7 separate regions of the Homo sapiens genome follow, and regions 2, 3, 4, 5, 6 and 7 are each linked to region 1. Evidence: promoter capture Hi-C in 16 types of primary human blood cells and fetal thymus (Javierre and others, 2016). All regions are on one chromosome and are shown on one strand. Each heading gives the region's core, a stretch centred on a gene start or on the middle of the fragment in contact. The rest is flanking DNA. Distances are from core to core; before and after follow the strand shown.

Region 1 (3,722 bases), core at 400-2,899:
TCCTTTCTTTCTTGTCCCTGGATTAATTCCTACGTGGCTAGCACAAACCTAATTTATGATGTAAATAGGTAGAGCGGATCCCTAAAAAGCTCTGCCCCTGTGGGTTCGCACTTGGCACGTCCCCCTCCGTGTCGTTGCTTCGCTGGAATTTCCAATGAAACAGTAACAGTAGCTAAGGTAACTGAGAGCGGGGCTGAACCTGGCCAATTCCGGAGCAGAAACGCAAAGACTTTCTCCGGGTCTGGGGGTGGGGAGACTGGCGTCGCGGACAGATTTCCGATTGCGCGGGGGTGGTGAGAGGCCAACGAGTGCAAAGGCGGTTGTCTAGTCTTTGAAGGCCGGCGGCTGGCTCTGCCACGCTCTCAGCAGGAAGGGGAGGGGACCAGGAGGAAGAGGGGGAGAAGGAGGAGATGCAGCGAAGAGCCCAAGGAGGGGGAGGAAGACCGGGGGAGGAAGGAGGGGCCAGAGGAGGAGCCCAGGCTCCGGGAAAGCCCGCGCGCCCGGCCGGCAGGACCTCGGGGCGGAGTCGCAGGCTCCGTCCGGCCCCCCGCGCGGCGACCCTCGCGCGGTGCGCCTCGAAGGGGCGGGCCCGCCTCGCAGCCTCCCTCCGGGTTTCGGGCCCTCCTTCCCCGCTCCTCCCTCCCCTCCCTCCTTTCCATCTCAGCAGCGCCCTCAGTCTCCCTCTCGCAGGCTCATACAAAAGCAAAATGTCCGCCATGTTCCGAGGCGGCTGCGGTTGTCGCGCCACGAGCTCGGCCCTCCTGCGGTTTCTCCCCGGGGCTGCTCCTCCCCGGTCCCCTCTCCCCGACCCCAGGCGCGACAGCTACTCCGAAGCCGCCGACGGCACCACTCCGCCCGCCCTCTGCGCACCCCCTCGCCGCCCGCCCCGCCGGGCGACGCAGGACCGCCTTAGGCGGGGGCAGGGGGGTAAGCAGCCCCCGCCGACTTGCTCCCGCTTCCCGCCTGTCCCCCCACCCGTAGCCCCTTTACCTTGATGCAGTACGGGGGTTCGTCGTAGGTGACCAGCATGTACCTGTCTCCACGGCTGGCCGGGTCCCGGGCGCGCAGCTGCGGGGCAAGGGATGACGGAGGGGGTCGCGTAGGAAAGGAGGGGGGAGGGCGATACAAACGTTACAGAAGCACCTCAATCCACACCCTGAAATCCCTCGGGAGCTCTCCCCATCTCTCCCCTCCCCTCCCTTTACCTTCAAGAATAACTCCACAGCGCCTTTGGCAATGTCCAAATAAGAGGTGCCCAGGTCAGTGCGCTGGTTCATAGAGGCGGACGTGTCTATGAGGAACAGCAGGATGGGCATCTTCCCCCGCACTCCTGCCTCCGCTCCCCACTCTCCCGGCCCTCTTGCCCTCACTGCCGCGTACGGCCACCTGAACCCTCAACTCTCGCAGAGCCGGGGAGCAAGGAGCAAGAGGAAGAGGGGGAGACGGGACGGGACGGGACGGATGGGACCGCTCCTGGCCTCCTCTTTCTGCAGCCCCACCTCCTCTCCCTCCAAGGGAACTTGAAAGTGTGAGCGTGTGTAGCCCTCGGGGCCCTCCCCCTTCCTCTCTTCTGCTGCCACCACTACTGCCGCTGCCAGGACTACTGCCTAAGCATCCGTCCGCGCTCACTAGAGCGCTCGCCCCAGACTGAGCGCCGTCTCTGTTCACTGACAACTTCTGTCTGCTCACCTACCATCGGCACCATGTGACCAGAACCCATGCCATTGGCTGCCAATTATGTGGTATTTGCATATTCATTAGATGACAGGACTAGGGGAGGGACTTGGGCGAACCCTGGGAGTTGAAGTTTGAACCCAGGCAGAGGGTAAGGGGAAGTGTTACGGACCCTCGCTAGGATTCTCCTTTAAAGGACTTGGAAGCAGTTCGAATGATTAGTTCGGGTGGTTTAAATGGATTTTTCTGTCTCTCTTCAAAGATGGTGATTCGAAAAGAAGAGTGAATTTGAGCAACAGTTGTACAGAAGTACAGAAGCAGATGCTTGGACAGTTTGCACAGAAAATTCTTCGCTAACTGCAATCGATCAATCCTGCCAGTGGCGAAGACGAAAATATTTCAGAAGCAGCAAACTTCTTTCCTGGCAGGACGTACTCACATTCCTTTAGATCCCTCCCCCGTCTTGATCAGTATTTGTGAGTTGGTTGCTGGCCTTGCATTCCACATATATCTACTTAGAAAGGAAACTAAAGCTTAAACACAGTTACAGTTACCTAAACTGGCCTTTTGTATGCACAAGCTTCTTCAGTTTCACTAAGCTCTTTGAAACATTGGCCTGCCTGTGATAATTCCACCACTGTTCCCTCTGCGCAGCCTTTACACATGGAGGTTTGCAAACCTAGATTGTGATTCAACTCACATATTTATTTATTTATTTATTTTTATAAATAAATAAAGAGGATCTCGCTTGATCGCCCAGGCTGGAGTGCAGTGGCCCCATCATAGCTGCCTGCAGCGTCCAGCTCCTGGGCTTAAGCGATCCTCCCATCTCAGCCTCTCAAGTAGCTGGGACCACAGGGGCAGGCTCTCAACTCACATTTATTGAGTGCCTATGAAGAGCCAGGCACCCACGGTAGCCTTGTTTAATCTTTGAATTAATTATGGCAGATGGCATTGTATTCAATTTTCAGTAGAGGAAAATGCAGCTCCCTGAGGTTAGGGTAACAATTACGGATACTCTCAGGTCTGGCTCTGTGAAGAGACTCAGTAAGTGGCCAACCACACTTGATTGACTACTTCATATGACACAATTTTAAAAATTGGACTTGTGTATTCCTGGCAATTACTATTGACAATGTGGAATCCAGGACTTCAATGAGTTTGCAGTTTCATTGAGGAGAGATGATGACATATACATACATAATATTTTATATATTTTGGCCAGGCGCAGTGGCTCATGCCTGTAATTCCAGCACTTTGGGAGGCCGAGGTGGGTGGATCATTTGAGGGCAGGAGTTTGAGACCAGCCTGGCCAACATGGTGAAACCCCCGTCTCTACTAAAAATACAAAAATTAGCCGGGCATGGGAGCAGGCGCCTGTAGTCCCAGCTACTTGGGAGGCTGAGGCAGGAGAATCACTTCAACCCAGGAGACGGAGGTTGCAGTGAACTGAGATCACACCACTGCACTCCAGCCTGGGCAACAGAATGAGATAACATCTCAAAAAAGTATTTTATATATTTTATATACACTCTCTCTCTCTCTCTCTCTCTCTATATATATATGTATGTTCTGTGTATATGTTTCATATATTATATATGCACATTCAATAACATTCTCAGAGAAATACGATTTTAAAAGAAGTCATATGGCAGTATATGAATCAGGGACAAACAAGGATGCAAGTTAAAAAGTGCTATGGAAACAATGGTCCAGTCTAGAAATTCATAGGATTTCACGAACAAGGCACAAAAAGGGAAGAGAGGGAATCTGGGTTGGAAGGAATGATATGAACAAAAACTCAGCCAAAGATAGTACTATGTATGGTGCATTTCAGGCCATTCTGGTGGAAAGTAGGGAATTAATGAAGAAATAAGGATGAAAAAGATACTAGAAGCCCCCATTTCCATTCCGATACAAATGTCAGTGTAGAAGGGCAATGCCTACATGGGCTAGGGTACAAAAAATATAGGACTGTTGGGGGCAGTGTGTTAGTTTTCTACTGCTGTTTAACAAATTATTACAAATTTAGTGGCTTAAAACAACAC
Region 2 (3,722 bases), core at 915-3,414, 470 kb after region 1:
CATGGTGTATATGTACCACATTTTCTTAATCCAGTCTATCATTGTTGGACATTTGGGTTGGTTCCAAGTCTTTGCTATTGTGAATAATGTGTGGCCCATTTTTTGTTAAACAGATGTTAACCCCAAAGGCCTACATATGAATACACACACACAGTCACACGCACACACAATAAGCTAAGTATGAAGAAAAATATAGACATACACACTAGGGTGTTAGTGCGGGCCACAAGACGGGAGGAAAGGTTGATGCCAGAGATGGAGTAGGGCCTTAGAGAGGGGGATGCACACAACAAAATGAAAGAAAAAAAAAAGGCTGCTCTAAAACACAGGGAGATTAAATGTATGGCATTGAAAACTGAAAAATCTATAGAAATTTGTGAGGGGTATATAGTATCCATCAGGGTCCCAAAAAGAAACAGAAGGTATACACAAATGGGATGATTGAGGAGAATTAAAAGAAGAGACTATATACAGATGTGTGGGTAGGTTTCAGATAAATTATGATAGATTGGATAACTGTTCCACAAATATTCACTCCTCACTTCCCCACACCCCTATGGTGGGTGTACTTCCCTGCTCCCCTGGCTCTAAGCTTGGCCATCATTTGTTATTTTCAATGGAACATGAGCAGACATGACATGAAGAGAGGATTTAAATATGCTTGAGTGGTTTTGCTTGTTTTCTTGCCCTCCTATGATTGCCATGAGAAGAGCATGCCCCCGGTTGTTGCTGATCCCTCAGCTTGGGCCATACAGTGATTCACATGGAACAGATCTAAACACAATCTGAATCCCAGAGCCAAGCCCACATGAACTGCATCCTGGAGAAGAATAGCCCCAGATGGCCCATAGCACATGAGCAAAGAGAGCAAATGATTGTTAATTAATTTGGCGGAGATTTCTTATACAGCATTATTGTAGCAATAGCTGACTAATACTGAAACCAACAATGGATTTTGAATTATCCTGAGGCTAGCAACAGTAATGAGCTGTTGCCTCCCACCAAGGCATGAAAGGGTAAGGGCAGGGAGGGGTTACTGGAACACAGAGAGCTCTAGCTATAGAAGAGAATCCCTGGAAAGGACCTGTGGCCTTTGATAGAGGAACTCAGCCACAGCCACCTCTTAATCTGGTAGAGATGGAGCTCTACCATTGGACAAACTCAACCAGAAGCCAGAGAGCAAGGGAATGGTTTATGCAGTCCATAAAGGTCAGCCTCTAGGAACAGAGCTGACCCTGTTCCAGGATAGAGGAGAGTGGAAAGTGAATCTGGAAGAGCAAATGGAAGGTATCCAAGAGATATGTGAACAATCAATTCCAAGTGAGAAACATTTGAAAAGATGGATAATTGCAATAGTAATCAGAGAGATTTTAAATAGAACAAAAACAGTATCATTTCAAAAGCATTACATTGCCAAATTAGACCGGGCATGGTGGTTCATGCCTGTAATCCTAGCACTTTGGGAGGCCAAGGCGAATGGATCACCTGAGGTCAGGAGTTCATGACCAGCCTGACCAACACGGTGAAATCCCGTCTCTACTAAAAATACAAAAATTAGCCAGGTGTGGTGGTGTGTGACTGTAATCCCAGCTACTCGGGAGGCTGAGACAGGAGAATCGCTTGAGCCCGGGAGGCGGAGGTTGCAGTGACCCGAGATCATGCCACTGCACTCCAGCCTGGGTGACAAAGCAAGACTCCATCTCAAAAAAAAAAAAAGTAAAAATGACCATATTAAGTGTTGAGGGGTTATGGAGAAATGAGAGTTCTTATATACCGCTTATAACAGTGTAGAATAGTACAACAAAATTGGAGATGAATGTGGCAGCACCTTGTACAGTTTAAGACAAACATATCCTACAACCAAGCAATTCCAACAAGGATGTTGACAATAGCATTTTTTAAAAATGTATGTATGATTAGTACCTCTGCTAAGCTGCATAGTACCTTTATCTAAATTAATAAAAGGTACCTCCTCTTGGGGAAAGCAGCCCCATGAATGCTGAGTTTGTTAAACTGTTAGTAATTTTGTGCTTCAAAAAAAGCAAACCTTATTAAGTGTGTATGCAGCCCCACTGGTTCACATGGTGGACTGGGTAGGGGCTAGATTGTAGCCTCAGTCACTCATTTGGTAAGAGGCACTTCTGAAGTGAGCAACCTATAGATCATAAGCAGCAGCCCTGTTTGCAGTAGCCAAAATTTGAAGCAACATAAGTGTCATCAGTAGGAGTTGGTGATAATATGTAATTATTAATATTGTTAAGCAGAGAGTTGCCATACAGTAATTCTATTCCTAGGTATATATCCAAGAGAACTGAAAATATATGACCTCACAAAAACTTGTACATGAATGTTCATAGCAGCATTATTCATAATAACAAAAAATGAGAAACAACCCAAAACTCCAGAAACTGATGAATAGATAAAATATAGTATATCCGTTCAATGGAATTCAACCTTAAAAAGGAATGAATGCTACATACATGCTACAACTTGGATGTACCTTGAAAACATAATGCTAAATAAAAGAAACCAGTCACAAAATACCACATATTGTATGATTCCATTTAAATGAAACTTCCAGAATACACAAATATATAGATGTGGAAAATCATTTAGAGGTTGCCTGGGGCTTGGGGAAGGAGAAAATAGGGAGGCATAGGGTATTTTCTTGGGGTGATAGAAATGTTCTAAAATTAGATAATGGTAATGGTTGGACAACTCTGCAAGTATACTAAAAACCACTGACTTGTATATTTTTAAAGGGTAATATTATAGTAAGTGAATCATATCTCAATAAAGCTGTTATAAAAAATTAATTGTATTTCTATTTAATAACAACAAAGTAGAAATAAAATTTAACAAAATAATACCATTTATGGTTGTGTTATAAAGTATCAAATATCTAGAAATAAATCTATAAAATAGCTGCAATACCTCAACACTAGTAACTACAAAACATTATTAAGATGAATTAAACAACTAAATAAATGGAAGGATATAAGATGTTAATGAATTGGAAAATTCAAAATTGTTACAGTATATATTTTCCCTAAATTTATTTTTAGATTCAATGCAATCCCAATAAAAATCAAGCAGATTTTAGAAGAAAACATAAGAGTAGAGTGTATCTTCATGATATTGGGTTAGACAAAGATTTCTTACACAAAAGACATTGGTAAGTGACTCTAAAATTTATATGGAAAGGCAAAGGATCTAGAATAGCCAAGGTAATATTCAAGAAGTACAAAGTTAGATGGCTTACATTATCAGATATTAAGACTTACTATAAAGGAACATAAATTAAGGTGTATGGTATTGGTACAAGGATAGACAGAAAAATGCAATACAATAAACAGTCCAGAAAGAAATTCACACATATATGGTGACCTAATTTATAACAAAGGCACCATTGCAATTCACTGGGGGGAAAGAATAGTCTTTGCAATAAGTGCTATTGGATCAATTAGATACCTATATTGAAAAATGAACATTGGTCCCTACCTCTCAGCATACATAAAAATTAATTCAGTATGGATCATAGACTTAAATTTGAAAGCTAAAATACGATATTAGAGGAAAGTATAGGAGACTATGATATTAAGTTTGGCAGAGATGTATTAAACAGGACACAAAAAAACACTAATAATGTCTGCCCTCCCAGATAAAATGTTTATTAAGACACTCAGCATACAATTAGCCCTGCTTCCTGACAGCATCCAAGC
Region 3 (3,722 bases), core at 810-3,309, 460 kb before region 1:
TGGGAGGCCAAGGCGGGAGAATCACTTGAGCCCAGGAGTTCAAGACCAGCCTGGGCAACATAGTGAAACCCTGTCTCTACAAAATTAACAGAAATTAGCCGGGCATGGTGGCGCGTGCCTGTAGCACCAGCTACTGAGGAGGCTGAGGAAGGAAAAGGGCTTGAGTCCAGGAGATGGAGGTTGCAGTGAGCTGATATTGGGCCAGACTGGGTGACAGAGTGAGACTTTGTCTCAAAAAAAAAAAAAAAGCGAATTGACCAAACTGTACTCTGCATGTCATCACTTCCTTTCCTCTTCTTCCAGGATCTACTCCAACAATCACCGCCCCCCCCAACCCCCGCCCTCCACCTCCACCATCTTCAGTGGCTCCTTCTCTATCATCTCTTTCTGCTCTCCATGAACATTTTCAGGTCTCCTCTGAGAAACACCTTTTCATCCACACCCCTCCAGCTACTGTACTATCTCTCCTTTCCTCTTCATAGATAAGCTTCTCAAAGGAATTGTCTGCATTCTCTGCACTCCCATCCAGGGAGTGCAGGGATAGTCCAGGGATTATCAAAAATCAGACTACAGTCTGAGGGCCAAATCCAGCCTGCTATCTGTTTTTGTATGTCTTGAAACTAAGAATGTTTTTCACGTTTTAAGGGCTGAGAAAAAAAGAATTAAAGAATATTTTGTGACATGTGAAAGTGATATGAAATTCAAATTTCTGTGTCCATCAATAATGGTTTATTGGACATGGCCATGTCCATTCCTTTACTTATTGTCTATGGCTGCTTTAGCACTACAAGGGCAGAGTTGAGCAGTTGCAAAAGAGACTGTGGATTGCAAAGTTTACATATATACTATCTGGCCCTTTGCCAGAAAGATATGCTGACCTCTTCTTTAGTCTCTGCCAATCATTCCTCTACACTTTCATAAGGGGGTGTTTCTGGAACACAAATCCTCTAATGCCCCCTGCCTTGCTTTTGGCTCTGGCTCCTTAGCCTGGCACCCAATGCTCCACACACCCTGCCTCCAGACTGTCTCTTCACCCTTATATCCTGTGCTTATTTCCCAAATATATTTTGCTTCAGCCATTCTGAACTTCTAGTTCCTTGAATGCTTCATGTGGTTTCCTGCCGTCTATGTGCCTTTCCATGTGTTCCTTCTACTTGGATAGTCCTCAACTTTTTCCTCACCTAACTAACTTCTACTTGTCTGACGAAACTCAGATTAAAGATCACCAAATTTTCCAGGATGCCCTCAGGCTGAGTTAGGAGCCTGATATGGTTTGGCTCTGTCTCCCCATCCAAATCTCATGTCAAATTGTCATCCCCACCTGTTGGGGGAGGGACCTGGTGGGAGGTGATTGGATCATGGGGACAGTTTCCCCCATGCTGTTCTTGTGATAGTGAGTGCGTTCTCAGGATATCTGAGGGTTTAAAAGTGTGTGGCGTTTCCCCCTCGCTTTTTGTTTCCTGCTGCCATAAGAAGACACTCCTTGCTTCCTCTTTGCCTTCCACCATGATCGCAAGTTTCCTGAGATCCTCCTCCCCAAGTCATGCTTCCTGTACAGCCTGCAGAACTGTGAGTCAATTAAACCTCTTTTCTTCATAAATTACCCAGTCTTCAGGTAGTTCGTTATAGCAGTGTGAGAACAGACTAATACAGGGCCCCTCTTCAGAAAGGGCTCTATGGCCCCCTGGGAAGATCTCTATCCTAGTAGCTCCCATGATGTACTGTCATGTTTGATTGACAAGTTTGTCATTCAACAGGTCATGAGCATCTTGAAGGCAGGAACTAGGCATTTATTTCCTTACTGACAGCATCTAGCATAAGGCCTAACCAAAACAGGAACTTAATAAAACATATCTGTGCATCAATAAATGTCTCTTAGGCCAAGCATGGTGGCTCACACGTATAATCCTAGCACTTTAGAAGGCTGAGGCAGGAGCATTGCTTAAGGCCAGGAGTTTGTGACCAGCCTGGGCAACATAGTGAGAACTCATCTCTACAAAAATTTAAAAAATTAGCCAGGTATGGAGGTGTGCACCTGTGGTCCCACCTACTTGGGAGGCTGAGGTGGGAGGATTGCTTGAGCCCAGAAGTTCGAGGTTACAGTGACCTATGATCATGCCACTGCACTCCAGCCTAGACAACAGAGTGAGACCACGACTCTAAAAATAATAAATAAATATCTCTTAAATTTAATGAAGTGTCAAAGAAATCTTCATATCTGCAGATAACATTAAATTTCTCCAGGTAGAGAGATTCAATTCAAGGATAAGCTGAAAAGAGAGCTTCACTCAGTGTAATACTAGATGACTGAACAGCATAGATAAGTTTAGTCAACACAGTCATTGATTCGTTGGAGGTGCCTGATAAACACTGAATTAAATAATTCATGTATTGGTAGGAGGCTGAGGCAGGAGAATCACTTGAACCTGGGAGGCCGAAGTTGCAGTGAGCCGAGATTGCACCACTGCACTGCAGCCTGAGCAACAGAGTGAGACTCCGTCTTAAAAAAAAAAAAAAATCATGTATTGGGGGACAGGCTGAAAAACTAGGTTGAAGTCATATTGTGGAAGTCCTCTATGCCACAGAAAATTTTAACTCATTCATTTTCCTGGTCAAAAACCTCCCCAATATTAATTTGGCAACAGAAAAGGGGGTGAATGAAATGTGGAGGCCGAGTGCAGTGGCTCACGCCTGTAATCCCAGCATTTTGGGAGGCTGAGGTGGGCAGATCACTTGAGGTCAGGAGTTCAAGACCAGCCTGGGCAACATGGTGAAACCCTATATCTACTAAAAATACAAAAATTAGCTGGGCGTGGTGGTGTGCGCCTGTAATTCCAGCTACTCGGGAGGCTGAGGTGGGAGAATCGCTTGGACCTGGGAGGTGGAGGCTGCAGTGAGCTGAGATCGTGCCACTGCACTCCAGCCTGAGCAACAGAGCAAGACTCCATTTCAAGAAAAGAAAAGAAATGTGGAAAGGTAAGTACTAGGGAGGCCAGTTAGGAGGTTATAAAGGTCATCTTGCTGAAGAGTAGTGAGGCCTTAACTTAGCAGGTGCAGTAGGAATGCATATGGAAAGTTAGATGCAAAGAGCCAATGCAGAGGTAGGATTAACCTGTCTTGGAATTGATTGGGTGGGTGAGTGGGAGTGCCTGAGGAAGAAGAACTGAGAGATGACTCCAAAGGTTTGAACCTGGATAACTGAAAAACAGAGGGCTGTCAGTAGCATTAATGTGGGAGTCAGAAAGTAGAGCTCAACTATGGACAGGTTGGATTTAAGGGACTGGTAGGATATCCAAGAACGGATGTCAACATAGGCACTTAGGAACTTGGCTCTGCAGTTCAGGAGTAAAGACTGGACCAGTGATGGATTTTTGAGCTATATGCATAATATTGACGCTGTGGGAGCGCCAAAGAAGAGAAGGTATAAAGAGACTTGGACTTAAGGCAGCAGTATAGAAAATGCCTATATTCATGTGGAACAAAGAATAGGTCACAGCTAGTACCCAGGATAAGGATGCTGAGGTTTTCAGTTTTGTTACTGAAATACCAGGGGTCCCGTCTAGGCCCTGCTGCTCACTGCACAGAAAACCAATCACTGAGACAATAAGTACTGCCAAGGAAGAAAGCTTTAATTGGGTGCTGCAGCCGAGAAGATGGTAGCTCAGTCTCAAATCCATCTCCCTGACCGACTAAAACTAGGGGTTTACAAAGCAGGGAAGAAA
Region 4 (3,722 bases), core at 394-2,893, 440 kb before region 1:
GGCATTTGACACAATGAGCCAATGTCAATACATTATTATTAGTAGTAGTAGTATTGGTATTACTGGAATGCAATGGCGTGATCTCGGCCCACTGCAACCTCTGCCTCCCAGGTTCAAGCGATTCTCCTGCCTCAGCCACCCGAGTAGCTGGGAGTACAGGCATGCACCACCACGCCTGGTTAATTTTGTATTTTTAGTAGAGACGGGGTTTCTCTATGTTGGTCAGGTTGGTCTCAAACTCCTGACCTCAGGTGATCCACCTGTCTCGGCTTCCCAAAGTGCTGGGATTACAGGCGTGAGCCAACGTGCCTGGCCTAATACATTATTATTAACTAAAGTCCATACTTTATTCAGATTTCCTTTTTTTTTTTTGAGACAGAGTCTCTCTCTGTCACCCAGGCTGGAGTGCAGTGGCGCGATCTCGGCTCACTGCAAGCTCTGCCTCCCGGGTTCATGCCATCCTCCTGCCTCAGCCTCCCGAGTAGCTGGGACTACAGGTGCCCACCACCATGCCCGGCTAATTTTTTGTATTTTTAGTAGAGACGAGGTTTCACGGTGTTAGCCAGGATGTTCTCGATCTCCTGACCTCGTGATCCGCCCGCCTCGGCCTCTCAAAGGGCTGGGATTATAGGCGTGAGCCACCGCGTCCAGCCCCTTTGGTTTTACCTAGTATCCTTTTTGTGTTCTAGGATTCTATCAAGAGGACCACATTACGTTTAGTCATCATGTCTTGGCTCCTCTTGGCTGTGACAGTTTCTTAGACTTCCCTTGTTTTTGATGATCTTGACAGTTTTCAGGAGTGCTGGTCAGGTATTTTGTAGAATCTTCCTCTACTGGGATTTGTTAGATGATTTTTCGGTTATTAAACTGGAGTTGTGTGTGTTTTTGGAGGAAGACCACTAAGGTAAAGTGCTATTCTTATCACATCATATCAAGGACACATTTATACTGCTGATGTTAATCTTGATCACCTGGCTGAGGTAGTGTTTGTCAGGTTTCCCCACTGTAAAGTACTGTTTTTTCCCCTTTCCATACTGTACTTTTTGGAAGGAAGTCACTCTGCACAGCCCACACATAAGGAGTGACATGTTATGCTCCACCTCCTTGAGGACAGAGTATCTACATAACTTATTTGGAATTCTTCTGCATGGGAGATATGCTTCTTCTCCCCCATTTATTCATTTATTTTTATGAGTTTGGACTCATACCTTGCTTTATCCTTTAATACTATATCTTGTTGAAATTGTTCCAGTTTCAGACATTGGTAGCTTTTTCAGTAAACTCCTGTGTCCCTTTGACATATTCCCATCGTTGTCATTGTGAGTTTTCTATTTTTTTTTTTTTATTTGAGTACTTCCTTCCTGGCACTACAAAGATGTTCCGGGCTTGTGTTGTATATTTCCTTCCTCAGTCCTGGAATCAGCCATTTCTCCAAGGAGCATGGTTCCTTTCATTGAAGAATGGTATTACAAACCAAGATCTGGCCACTAGGTTCGCTCATTGCTGCTTGACGTTTCATTGCCTCTAGGCCTTTTCAGCAGACAGATCAAGGAAATATATATGTGCATACTAACCTGTGCATTTATGCCTAAGTGTAAATATGTAACATCTGTATTTCCATTAAATGAAACATGAGTTCATACTGATGTTCAATCCATTACCACATAGATCATTCTAACCTCTTCCCTTTGCTTATCTGTAAACCTCCACTGCAACTGAGAAACCCGACTCCCACCATCGGCTCTCTTCTTGCTTCAACTGTTTAATTCCAGTATACATATAAACTGGCTTCAGAATTGTTAACCCTTTCCCCCACAAGAAACAACTTTATCAGCTAGAGCACAGTGATTATGTAGCTTTGTTGGTTGTTCATTTGTTGCCATTAGTTTCACAGGCTACTCATTTTGAAAGTTACTTAGGTCAGGACCTTTTCCCTCACCTCCTTTGGTGAGATTGTTTCATAAATTTGTGATAAACTTAGATTGTTTTGTAACATTCTACCTTCGATTTTGGTATTCTCCTGACCTCCCAAATGGTTTTTAAAAATGTGTGTACATTAAGGTTCACTTTTTGTTTCTGGAAGTTCAGTGGGTTATGATGGATTCATAATGTTAGGTATCCACAATTGTATTATCACATAGAATAGTTTCACAGCCATAAGAATCCCTGTGCTTCACATATTTATCCTTCCCTCCCCTTCTGCTGAGCCTGTGTTAACCACCGATCTTTTCAGTGTCTCTATAGTTTTGCCTTTTCAAGAATGTCATGTGGTTGGAATCATGCAGTATGTAGTCTTTTTAGACTGGCTTCTTTCACTTAGCAATATGCATTCAGGATTCCTCCATTTCTCTCAGAAGTTTGATAATTCATTTCTTCTTATCTCTGAATAATAGTTTTATTGTATGGATGTTCCCACACTTTGTTTATCCATTCACCTATTGAAGGACATCTTGGTTGCTGCCAGTCTTTGCTGGTTATGAATAAATCTTCCATAAACACTCACATGCAGGTTTTTGTGTGGACATGATTTTTCAAAGTGGTTGGGTGTAAATACCGAGGAGCAGAATTGCTGGGTCATATGATGAGATTATGTTCAGCTTTATAAGAAATTGCCAAGCTGAATGCGGTGGCTCATGCCTATAATCCCAGTACCTTGAAAGGCCAAGACGGGCGATCACTTGAGCCCAGAAGTTCGAGACCACCTGGGCAATATGGTGAAACCCTGTCTCTACACAAAATACAAAAAAATTAGCCAATCATGGTGGTGCATGTCTGTAGTCCCAGCTACTCAGGAGACTGAAGTGGGAGGATTGCTTGAGCCTGGGAGTTCCAGGCTGCAGTGACCCGTGTTCGCACCACTGCACTCCAGCCTGGATGGTAGAGTGAGACCCTGTCTCAAAAAATAAAATAAATAAAAAATAAAAAAATTGCCAAACTGCCATCCAAAGTGGCTGTACCATTTTGCATTCCTATCAGCAATGGACCATTTTGCATTCCTATCAGCAATGGATAAGAGTTCCTGTTGCTCCATGTCTTTGCCAGCAATTGGTATTGTCAGTTTTTGAATTTTAGTTATTAATAGGTGTGTAGTGCTATTTCTTTGTTTTAATTTGCAGTTCTTTAACAACAAATGATGTTAAGCATTGTATGTGCTTATCTGCCATCTGCATTTCTCCTGTGATGAGGTATCTGTTCAGGTCTTTTGCCCATTTTAAAACTGGTTTGTTTGCTTAATTGTTGAGTTGTAAGACTTCTTTGTATATTTTGAATACAAGTCCTTTACACGTGTGGGTTTTGCAAATATTTTCTCCCAGTCAGTGGCTTCTCTTTTCATTCTCATAACAGTGTCTATCACAGATAAATTTTGATTGTAGTAAAGATCAACTTATCAGGTTTCTCTTTCATGGATCATGCTTTTGGTGTTGAATTTAAAAGTTCACTTTCAAACCTAAGCTCATCTAGATATTCTCCTATGTTTCCATTCAAAGGTTTTGTAGGTTTTCATTTTACATTTAGATCTATAATCCATTTGAAATTAATTTTTGCAAAAGGTATAAATAAGATCTGTGTCTAGGTTCCTTTTTTTTTTTCATATGGACATCCGCTTGTCCTAGCACCATTTGTTGAGAAGACTGTGCTTTCTTCATTGCTTTGCTTTTGTTCCTTTGTCAAAAACCAATTGACTGCATATGTGTGGATCTATTTCTGGGCTGTCTACTTTG
Region 5 (3,722 bases), core at 772-3,271, 430 kb after region 1:
TGTGTTGGTGGAGGGAAGGAGAAAGAACATACTACTTTGAAAACTTCTCCTCCCACTTCATCTTTATCTTTCCATGTTATTAGGTATTTTTCTATATCCAAAGCCACCTAGTAGTCTCTTGTGTGAAGGTATCATGCATTTCTCATGCCTCTTGGTTGTTTCCCTTTATTGTTTATTTGGGGAGTTTGGTTTCTTGGTTGTTTGGTTTTTTTCTGTGGTTTTGTTTTTATAAACATTCCAGTAACAGATAAGTTGGACCTCATCAAAATTAAAAACTTTTGTGCATAAGAAGTCACTATCAGGACAGTGAAAACACAACCTGCAGAGTGGGAGCAAATATTTTAAAATATATATCTGATAAGAGACTTGTATCCAGAAATATAAAAAGAACTCTAGCTACTCAACAAAAAAAGACAGACAACCCAATCAAAATATGGGCAAAGAGTTTCAATACACATTTCTCCAAAGAAGTGATACAAATGGCCACCAAGCACATAAAGATGCTCAATGTCATTAGTCATTAGGGAAATGCAAATCAAAACCACAATGAGCTCACCTCACCCACTTCACACATTAGGATATTTATTTATTTATTTATTTATTTAGAGACAGAGTCTTCAATGCCCAGGCTGGAGAGCAATGACACAATCTCAGCTCACTGCAACCTCTGCCTCCTGGGTTCAAGTGATTCTCATGCCTCAGCCTCCCAAGTAGCTGGGATTACAGACGTGCACAACCACACCTGGCTAGTTTTTGTGTTTTTTGTAGAGGCGGGATTTCACCATGTTGGCCAGGCTGGTCTTGAACTCCTGGCCTCAAGTGATCAACCCTCCTCAGCCTCCTAAAGTGCTGGAATTACAGGTGTGAGTCACCACGCACAGCTCAACTTTTTTTAAAAAAATTAAAATAACACGTGTTGGTGAGGATGTGGAGAAATTGGAACCCTTGTTCATTACTAATGGGCATGTAAACTGGTACAGCAGCCACTGTGGAAAACAGGTGGTTCCTCAAATAGTTAAACCTAGAATTATCCTATAGCCCAGCATTTCCACTCCTAGGTACATACTCAAATGACTGAAAGCTGGTACTCAAACATGAATTTTCATAGCAGCACTATTTACAATAGCTAGAAGGTGGAAACAACCCAAATGTCTATCAGTCTATCAACTGATGAATGAATAAACAAAACTTGGTATATTTATACACTGGAATATTATTCAGCCCCAAAATAATCCCACAATGAAGGATTTGATACATATTACAAGGTGGATGAACTTTGAAAATATTATGCTAAGTGAAAGAAATCAGACACGAAAGATTACAAATTTTATGATTCCATTTATATGAAATGTCTAGAATATGTAAATTCATACAGACAGAAAGCAGATTAGTGGTTGCCATGGTCTAGGGGAGGGAAGGATGGAGAGTGACTGCTTAATGAGTACAGGGTCTCCTTTTAGGGAGATGAAAATGTTTTGGAACTAACAGTGGTGATGGTTACACAACATTGTGAATGTACTAAATGCCACTGAATTATACATTTCAAAATGGTTGATTTTATGTTATGTGGATTTCAACTCAATAATGAAAACAAAATTTGCTGACACATTTTACTATCTCACCACTGGGCCTTTTCCATAGATGAACTTCTCTCCTGGCCTTTCATTCAATCCCCTGCAGCCCTTGTCCTGCCCCTGTGGTATAAAAAGCTTACAAAAGTAGCCCCATCCCATTAGTTCCCAAGCAATCCTAGCCCTCAACTCCTTCCCCATTAGGGTGGCTCAGAGAGTGGGAATCTCTAGTGAACGATGGGATCATTGAGGACTGATCTGGCCATATTCCTCAACTGCCTGACCAGTGGAGAACAGCACAGACTCCTTGACTCTTCCTCCTGGCCTCCTGTTTTGGAGAAAAAGCAGAACATTCCCCTCCCATGCTGGCAGGCTCGCCCACACTGCCTTTAGTCTGGGCTCCTGGCTCTAACCCTGGGGCCTTCTCCTTGGACATGGATGTCTTGGCCTTGTAGTTAATGGATGCCACAAACACATGAATGCCTGACCCTCTGGACACAACCCCACATCATCTCACATTCCCAGTTCCTCCCAGGAAGAGGATCAAGTGACAAGCAGGACCCCAGGCAACAGCAACCAGCCGAGGCGGCTCAGTCACTTGCCACAATATTTAAATATGACATTGATGAAGAGCAGACATTGAGTCTGTATTAGTCTATTCCTACACTGCTATGAAGAAATAACCAAGACTGGGTAATTATAAAGAAAAAGGGTTTACTTGACTCACAGTTCTGCATGGCTGGGGAGGCCTCAAGAAGCTTACAATCATTGTGGAAGGGGAAGCAAACACATCCTTCTTCACAAGGTGGCAAGAGAGAGAAGTGCCGAGCAAAGGGGGAAAAACCCCTTATAAAACCATCAGATTTCATGAGAACTCACTCATTATCATGAGAACAACATGGGGTAACCAAGCCCATGATTCAATTACCTCCCACCGGGTCCCCTCCACCACATGTGGGGATTGTGGGAACTATAATCCAAGATGAGATTTGGGTGGGGACACAGCCAAACCATATCATTCCACCCCTGGCCCCTCCCAAATCTCATGTCCTCACATGTCAAAACACAACTATGCCTCTCCAACAGTCCCCTAAAGGCTTAGCTCATTCCAGCATTAACCCAAAAGTCCAAATCCAAAGTCTGAGACAAGGCAGTTCCCTTCTACATAAGAGCCTGTAAAATTGAAAGCAAGTTAGTTACTTCCTAGATATGATGTGGGTACAGGCATTGGGTAAATACATACATTCTAAATGGGAGAAATCGGCCAAAACAAAGGGGCTACAGGCCCCATGCAAGTCCGAAATCCAATAGGCCAGTCATTATGCCTTAAAGTTCCAAAATTATCTCCTTTGACTCCATGTCTCATATCCAGGTCATGCTGATGTCCACGGCCTTGGGCAGCTCTGCCCTTGTGGCTTTGCAGGGTACAGCCCCCCTCCCAGCTGCTTTCACAGGCTGGCATTGAGCATCTGTGGCTTTTCCAGGCACACGGTGCAAGCTGTTGGTGGATCTGCCATTCTGGGGTCTGCAGTCTGGAGAATGGTGGCCCGCTTCTCACAGGTCCACTAGGCAGTGCCCCAGTGGTGACTCTGTGTGGGGGCTCCAACTCCACATTTCCCTTCTGTACTGCCCTAGCAGAGGTTCTCCATGAGGGCTCTGCCCCTGCAGGAAACTTCTGAATGGACATCCAGGCATTTCCATATATCCTCTGAAATCAAGGCAGAGGTTCCCAAACCTCAGTTCATGACTTCCGTGCACCCACAGTCTCAACACCACATGGAAGTCACCAAGGCTTAGAGCTTGCACCCTCTGAACCAATGGCCTGAGCTGTACCTTGGCCTCTTTTAGCCACAGCTGGAGCTGAAGCACCTGGGACACAGGACACCATGTCCTGAGGCTGCACAGAGCAGGGTGGCCCTGGGCCTGGCCCAGGAAACCATTGATCCCTCCTAGGCCTCCAGGCCTATGATGGGAGGGGCTGCCATGAAGGTCTCTCACATGCCCCGGAGACATTTTTCCCATTGTCTTGGTGATTAACATTCAGCTCCTCGCTACTTATGCAAATTTCTTCAGCAGGCTTGAATTTCTCCCCAGAAAATGGGGTTTTCCTTTCTGTCACATCATCAGGCTGCAAATTTTCTAAATTTTTAT
Region 6 (3,722 bases), core at 517-3,016, 410 kb after region 1:
TACATACAAAAGATCAATGAAACCAAGAGTTGGTTATTTGAAAAACGAAATAAGATTGATAGATCACCAGCTATATTAACAAAGACAAAGAAAGAGAAGATCCAAATAAGTACAATCGGAAATGACAAAGGCAATATTACAACTGATCTCACAGAAACACAAAAGATCCTGAGAGATGACTATGAACAACTCTCTGGATACAAACTAAAAATTTACAGGAAATGGATAAATTCCTAGAAGCACACAATCTCCCAAGAATGAATCACGAAGAGATTGAAACCCTGAATAGACCAATATCAACTTCTGAAATTGAATCAGTCATAAAGAATCTACCAACCAAAAGAAGCCCTGGACCAGATGGATTCATAACCAAATTCTATGAGATGTGCAATGAATAACTAATATCAATCCTAGTGAAACTATTCCAAAAAAAATCAAGGAGGAGGGGTTCCTCTCTAACTCATTCCATTAAGCCAACATCAGCCTAATACCAAAATCTGGCAGAGACACAATGAAAAAAGAAAACTTCAGACCAATATCCCTCATGAGCATAGATGCAATAATCCTCAACAAAATATTAACAAACCAAATCTAGCAGCATATCAAAAAGTTAATACACCATGATCAGGTAGGCTTCATTCCTGAGATGCATGACTGGTTCAACATATGCAAATCAATCAACAAGGTTCACCACATAAACAGAATGAAAAGGAAAATCATATGAACATCTCAATAGATGTACAAAAAGTTTTCAATAAAATCCAGCTTCCCTTCATGATGAAAACCTTCAACATACTAAGCATTGAAGGAACAAACTTCAGAATAATAAGGTTCTATGGCAAACCCACAGCCAGGTTCATACTGAGTGGGCAAAAGCTCAAACCATTCTCCTTGGTAACTGGAACAAGACAAGGATGCCCACTCCCACCACCCCTTTTCAACATAGTACTGGAAGTCTTAGCTAGAGCAATCAGGCAAGAAAAAGAAATAAAAGGCATCCAAATAGCAAAAGAAGAAGTCAAACTATCTCTCTTCACTGACTATATGATTCTGTACCTAGAAACCCCTAAAGACTGTGCCAAAAGGATCCTAGAACTGATAAATCACTTTAGTAATGTTTCAGGATACAAAATCATTGTACAAAACTCAGGAGCATTTCTACACACCTGCAATATCCAGGCTGAGAGTGAAATCAAGAACATAACCCACTTACAATAGCTACAAAGAAAATGAAATACCTAAGAATACAGCTAACCAAGGAGGTGAAAGATCTCTGCAAGGACAACTACAAAACAATGATGAAAGAAATCAGAGATGACATAAATAAATTTTTAAAAATTCCATGCTAATGGGTAGGAAGAACTAATATAGAAATGGCCATACTGCCCAAAGCAATTTACAGGTTCAATGCTATTCATATCAAACTGCCAACATCATTCTTCACAGAATTAGAAAAAAAAACTATTCCAAAATTCACATGAAGCCAAAAAGGAGCCTGAATAGCCAATGCAATCCTAGGAAAAAAGTACAAAGCTGGAGGCATCATACTACCCAACTTCAAATTATATTATATACCCACAGAAATCAAAACAGCTTTTTGTACTGGTACAAAAACAGACACATACAGCAATGGAACAGAATAGAAAATTTGGAAATAAGGCCACACATCTACAACCATCTGATCTTCGACAAGGCCGAGAAAAACCAGCAATAGGGAAAGGGCTCCCTATTCAATAAATGGTACTGGGATAGCTGGCTAGTCATATGTAGAAGACTAAAGCTGGAACCCTACCTTTCACTATATATAAAATTTCACTCAAAATCAATTAAAGAGTTAAATGTAAGACCTCAAACTCTAAAAATCCTGGAAGACAGCCTAAAAAATACTCTTCTCAACATCAGCCTTGGCAAAGAATTTTTGACTAAGTCCCCAAAAGCAATTGCAACAAAAACAAAAACGGACAAATAAGACCTAATTAAACTAAAGAGCTTCTACACAGCAAAAGAAACTGTCAATAGAGAAAAAAAAAACACAGATAACATGCATAATGGGATAACATATTCACAAACTATGCATCCAAGAAAGGCCTAATATCTAGAATCTATAGTGAACTTAAATTGACAAGAAAAAACAAATAACTCCATTAAAAATGGGCAAAGGATATGCACAGACACTTCTCAAAAGAAGACATACAGGTGGCCAACAAATATTATAAAATGCTCAATATCACGAATCATCAGAGAAATGGAAATCAAAACCACAGTGATATACCATCTCACACCAGTCACAATGGCTATTACTAAAAAGTCAAAAAATGACAGATGCTGGCGAGGCTGCAAAGAGAATGCTTATACCTGTTGATAGGAATGTAAATAAATTCAGCCACTGTGGAAAGTAGTCTGCAGATTTCTCAAAAAACTTAAAACAGCTACCATTCAACCCAGCAATCCCATTACTGGTATATACTCAAATGAAAATAAATCATTATACCAAGAAAACACATGCACTCATGTGTTCATGGTTGCACTATTCACAATAGCAAAGATACTGAATCAACCCAGGTGCCCATCAATGGTAGATTGGATAAAACAAATGTGGCACAAATACACCATGGAATACTATGCAGCCATAAAAAAGAATGAAATCTTACTACTTTGCAGAAACATGGATGGAGCTGGAGGTCATAATCCTAAGCGAATGAACACAGGAACAGTAAACCAAATAGCACATGTTCCAGCTCAAAAATGGGAACTAAACATTAAGCACACATGGATATAAATATGGAAACAATAGACACTGTGGACTACTAGAAGGGGGAGGAGGGAGGAAGGGAGAAGGGTGAGTTGAAAACCGATCTGTTGGATACAATGCTCACTAGCTGGGTGACAGGATTCATATCCAAAACCTCAGCATCACACAATATTTCCATGTAACAAACCTGCAAATGTACCCCTGTGTATCTAAAATAAAAGCTGAGACTGGGCACAGTGACTCATGCCTGTAATTCCAGCACTTTGGGAGGTTCAGGTGGAAAGATTGCTTGAGCCTAGGAGTTTGAGACCAGCCTGGGCAACATAGTGAGACCCCCATCTCTACACAAAAAAATTTTAATTAGCGGGGCATGGTGGCATGGCCTGTAGTCCCAGCTGCTCAAGAGGCTGAGGCAGGATTGCTTGAGCCTGGGAGGCAGAGGTTGCAGTGAGCCAAGATCGCATGACTGAACTCCAGCTTGGGTGACAGCACAAGAGCCTGTCTCAGAAAATAAAATAAAATAAAAGTTGAAATTTAAAAATAAATAAATAATAATGCTGATTGTGAATGCAAATACACTGGGTTCACAGACTCCCACCTAACCTATCTCAGAGCCTCAGTTTCCACCTCCTTACAAGCCCCCTTCACTGCAAGTACAGGCAACAGAGACCTGTCACAACCCTTTAGTCACAACCCTTTCAAATTACTGGATTTTAGACGATAATTACTCTTCAAGATGGCTGCTGAAATTTAAAGATGCTAAAAAAGCTAAAGTGCAACATGAATATAACAATCAGACTCTTACAATGGAAATATTTTATGACTTGATAGAAACCTGACACGATCATCACCACGTTTCTGTGTGTGCCAGCTGGCATGGTACCTGGGGAAGATAAATGAGGCTACAACAATTTTTGGTCCCAATTCTGAATCCTCCCACAGACAAGGTGACAACTAGAGCTGGCTACAA
Region 7 (3,722 bases), core at 862-3,361, 350 kb after region 1:
GTTGATGCAGGATGAAGAGAGGCAACAGCAATAGAAGCAACATCCTCAGAGAAAATGTGTCAAGAGAATGGTTCCATGTGCTCAGTGGAGTTTCAGCCCTGGCCAGGGGCTGCGATGTCCTTCCATTGTTACAAAAGAGAAGGAAGAGAAAGCCAGGATGGGTGCCAGGAGTTTCACAGAGGGGCTCCTGTTTCATGGCCTGTGTTTTCTCAGAGAAATAAGAGGAAATGTGTGCTTACCTGTGTGTCCTAATTTTTCATTGATAATCATAGAATATTGGAGTAATCAAAATTTACAAGAGCAGTTGCTGTGGGTTGAATTTTGCCCTGAAAGAGATATGCTCAGGTTCTGAGCTCCAGTACCTGTGAATGTGACTTTATTTTGAATAGGGTCTTTGCAAAAAAAAAAAAAAAAAAATCAAGTTAAGATGAGGTCCTACAGGATTGGGATTAGTCATATACCCTTAATCCAGTGAGTGGTGTCCTTATAAGAAGAGGTGTATTGGACACACAGACAGATGGAGAAGAGCACCATGATATGAAGGAGGAAGAGATTGGAGTGATGCATCTACAACCGAAGGAAGCCAACCGATGACTACTGGCAACCTACGGAATCTTGGAATAAACTCTCCCTCAGAGCTTGCCAGAAAGAACCAACCTCACGGAAACCTTGATTTCAGACTCATAGCCTGCAGAACTGCAGAAGAATAAATTTCTGTTGTTTAAAGCCACGCAGTCGTAGTAATGTGTTGTGGCCTCCCTAGGAAATTAACACAGTTGTGTTACATTTTGAGACATAGATAGCCCTCAACCGATCCTGTTAACCAGATGATAATCTTCAGCAATGCTCTTACCTGTTCTCACAGTAGGAGAGGAAAGACAAACAGGTTTCATCCACAGTGCCCATGGATTGCATCAGAATCATCCAAACTGTTCTCCTTGCTTCCTGCTCTGACCTCTTCCAGCCTGTTCACAACCAAGCACCTGGAGTGATCCCTGGAGGCTCCAAATCCTTCAGGGACTTTACGTGTCATGGACAATAAAAGCCAAAGGACTTCCAGTGCCCCACTATCCCACATGCAGCCTGAACCTCTATTATCTCTCTTACCATACTTCCCACTCTTCTAGCTATTCACTGCCTCTGCTCTAATCACTGCTTTTCTTTGAATACATCACGCACAGTCTTGCTGTATGGTCTTTGCACAAACTGTGCCCTCCGTCTGAACGGCTCCTCCAAAAATAGCTGCCTGGCTAACTCCAACATCTTTCTCAACTATTGCTTTCCAATGAGGGCTACTCTGACCATGCTATTGTAAAGTGCAATCCAATACCCCATGCCCAGCACTGTGGATCTCCCTTGTCCTGCTATATTTTTCCATGGCATTTATTGCCTTCTAACATACCATATATTTTATTATGTGATGTTTAGTGTCACCCTTTCGTCATCCTGTGAAAAATCTACCCTCACAGGGTGAAGATTCTTGACTCTTTCATTCATTAACAAATTTTAGGAACACAGAACAGTGTCTGGTTCACAGTTAGTGCCCTACAAGTTTTGCTGAATGAATGAATAAGGGTAATGTGTATATCAGAGTAATGTAAGCATAACCAGGTAAGCGATGAGTACATGGTAGCAATGATCATAAAAGGATTCTATTATAAATTATCACTGGACTAAAAATGGCAGTCCTAGTACACAAGACACGTACTTGCCATCACTAAAACATTGCCTACCCACATGATGCCCTCTCTCCACAAAATTGATCCCTGGTGAGGAGTAACTATTGACCGCCCACTGAGTGGTGACTCCTTATGCTAAGCACCACGAATACAAGGGCAGGAGCAGGATTTTTGGTTGCACAGCCGGTGTTTCAGGCACCCATCCTCCCAGGGAACCCAAGAGAAGAGCCCTGTATCTCCTTAGTAAATGCAGAACCCAAGCTCCCAAGCCATTTTCCCCAGGCCATCCTAATGGCTCCCTCAGCCTTGATGGGAGAAGCCACGATGTTCCCACCCATCGCCTTTTAGTAGCCACAAGAACCTGCCCGCCCACCCACTGCACGCCCATTGGTTGGACAGTGGTAGAGGCGGGCCCTGACGAGCGCATGCTCAGAGGGAGAAGTCAGCGGAGAAGCTGGGAGCTCCTTTGGAGGCTGCGGTGTCCCTGACTCTCCTGAGGGGGGCTCACTAACGGGTGGGTCCCATGCCACAGTGTCTGAGGAGAAGCAGGAAGTGAGTCCCTGAGGAGACGCCGTGACCTGAGGGCTTCCCTTACTGAGGAGGCCTCGTGCTTCATCTGCCACAAGCGGTGCCCAGGCCGGTGGTGACAACTGGGACGATGCTCAGGCTTCTGAGACTTGCTTTGGCCTTCTACGGGAGGACGGCCGACCCTGCAGAGCGACAGGGCCCACAGCAGCAGGGCCTCCCACAAGGTATTCCTCTGTGTGTCCCCTTGTCCCCCACCCCAGAAGCCTCCCAATAGGGGTTCTCCTCACCCCCGGAATGAGGCTGTTGTAACTCGGGTGGGTACTGCACGTGACGGTGGCTCCATCTTGTGCGTGCATGGGGAGGCAACCCGAGGCAACCCGAGTCCTCAACAATTCCCTGAGAACCAACCCCCAAACTCTCCTGTCCATCTAAAGCGGGAAGGTGTTGACAGAGAAGACCTTGGGGTCTGTACCGCCTGTGCTTTTCCCCCACGTGGTCGCACAGCACATGCCTATTTATATTTCCAGTAGGCGAGAAACTCCCTAATTTGCGAGTTAATTTAGGCTTGTATCCCAAACGGGAATGTAATTTGAAGCCAAGTTGATGCCTCATACTTATCTGATCCCAAAGGAAGGCAGAGAACCCCTGCCGGCGACTGCTGAGGTTTGATCCCTAAGTATTGCTGATCAGCTAGGCTTGTGCAGAATAAAAAAAAAAGAAGAAGAAGAAGAAGGAGAAATAAAGAAAACCATTCAGATGCCGTTTTGGGCTAGCCTTCAATCTCCAGATATCTTTTAGTACTTTGTCTGCTGAGATGGTTAAGTATCTATAGAAGGTGCTACTCATCATGTTGGTGATAATGATGAAGGAATATAATAGGAGCAGAAGCTTAAAGACTCATATGTAGAAATGCTAACAGGTAACATTTACACACTCTTGTGCAAGGCACTCAGAGCTCTCGACAGTTGATGTGCATGTGTCAGTTAATATTCGTAAGCTGGGCGCGGTGGCTCACACCTGTAATCCCAGCTCTTTGGGAGTTCCAGGTAGGTGGATCACTTGAGGCCAGGAGCTGGAGACCAGCCTGGGCAACATGGCAAAACCCCGTCTCTATTAACAATTCAAAAATTAGCTGGGTGTGACGGTACACACCTGTAGTCCCAGCTACTGGGGAGGCTGAGACATGAGAACCACCTGAACCCAGGAGGCAGAGGTTGCCGCTAGCCCAGATTGCGCCACTGCACTCCAGCCCCGGCGACAGAGCCAGACTCTGCTCAAAAAATTAAAAAATAATTAAAAATTAAAATTTTTAAATTTTAATAAATTTTTAAAAATATTTTAAAAACCTACAACAACCCTATTAGGCGAAATTGTGATTGTTGTGGATTGACAGATGAAAACAAGGTCAGAGACGTTATAAAACTTCTCTGCCCAGGGTTATGCAGATGGTGAGTGTAAGACTTACTTGTAGTAGGTGTTTGCATTTGAGGCTAATAATGTGACCTTGTTTCTTTA

Evidence for each region. Contacts are between HindIII fragments. The CHiCAGO score rates a contact against its expected background, and 5 or more counts as called.
Region 2: a contact is called between a fragment that was not itself captured here and the fragment with the promoter of INTS6L in region 1, in 1 of 17 cell types (total B cells). The highest score is 6.3, in total B cells.
Region 3: a contact is called between a fragment that was not itself captured here and the fragment with the promoter of INTS6L in region 1, in 9 of 17 cell types (neutrophils, naive CD8 T cells, naive B cells and 6 more). The highest score is 12.1, in neutrophils.
Region 4: a contact is called between a fragment that was not itself captured here and the fragment with the promoter of INTS6L in region 1, in 1 of 17 cell types (total B cells). The highest score is 5.9, in total B cells.
Region 5: a contact is called between a fragment that was not itself captured here and the fragment with the promoter of INTS6L in region 1, in 2 of 17 cell types (total B cells and neutrophils). The highest score is 5.8, in total B cells.
Region 6: a fragment that was not itself captured here is called in contact with the fragment with the promoter of INTS6L in region 1 in 2 of 17 cell types (naive CD4 T cells and activated CD4 T cells); the score reaches 5.7 in naive CD4 T cells.
Region 7: the fragment with the promoter of CT55 here is called in contact with the fragment with the promoter of INTS6L in region 1 in 10 of 17 cell types (endothelial precursors, M2 macrophages, activated CD4 T cells and 7 more); the score reaches 8.8 in endothelial precursors.

The regions. Positions count from the first base shown.
Region 1 is chrX:135,518,587-135,522,308 of GRCh38, reverse strand. INTS6L (integrator complex subunit 6 like) reads right to left here and starts at 1,649. Exons shown (of 18, transcript NM_001351601.3): 1 at 1,206-1,649; 2 at 991-1,068. The coding sequence starts at 1,316. INTS6L-AS1 (INTS6L antisense RNA 1) reads left to right here and starts at 1,635. Exons shown (of 2, transcript NR_046740.1): 1 at 1,635-1,742; 2 at 1,937-2,226. RefSeq lists silencers at 546-745, 806-1,075 and enhancers at 1,326-1,385, 1,416-1,495. The HindIII fragment of the contact is 2,771 bases long and covers 1-2,209 here.
Region 2 is chrX:135,044,600-135,048,321 of GRCh38, reverse strand. No RefSeq gene overlaps it. Among named protein-coding and RNA genes, the nearest start is that of RTL8A, 5.7 kb to the left of the region's middle. The HindIII fragment of the contact is 3,140 bases long and covers 595-3,722 here.
Region 3 is chrX:135,979,013-135,982,734 of GRCh38, reverse strand. It overlaps a transcript of SLC9A6 not described here. Among named protein-coding and RNA genes, the nearest start is that of SLC9A6, 4.6 kb to the left of the region's middle. The HindIII fragment of the contact is 3,139 bases long and covers 490-3,628 here.
Region 4 is chrX:135,955,926-135,959,647 of GRCh38, reverse strand. No RefSeq gene overlaps it. Among named protein-coding and RNA genes, the nearest start is that of MMGT1, 16 kb to the left of the region's middle. The HindIII fragment of the contact is 4,472 bases long and covers 1-3,722 here.
Region 5 is chrX:135,089,097-135,092,818 of GRCh38, reverse strand. No RefSeq gene overlaps it. Among named protein-coding and RNA genes, the nearest start is that of SMIM10L2B, 7.8 kb to the left of the region's middle. The HindIII fragment of the contact is 620 bases long and covers 1,712-2,331 here.
Region 6 is chrX:135,105,508-135,109,229 of GRCh38, reverse strand. No RefSeq gene overlaps it. Among named protein-coding and RNA genes, the nearest start is that of SMIM10L2B, 8.7 kb to the right of the region's middle. The HindIII fragment of the contact is 6,245 bases long and covers 1-3,722 here.
Region 7 is chrX:135,169,787-135,173,508 of GRCh38, reverse strand. CT55 (cancer/testis antigen 55) reads left to right here and starts at 2,111. Exons shown (of 6, transcript NM_001031705.3): 1 at 2,111-2,431. The coding sequence starts at 2,338. The HindIII fragment of the contact is 3,215 bases long and covers 1-3,097 here.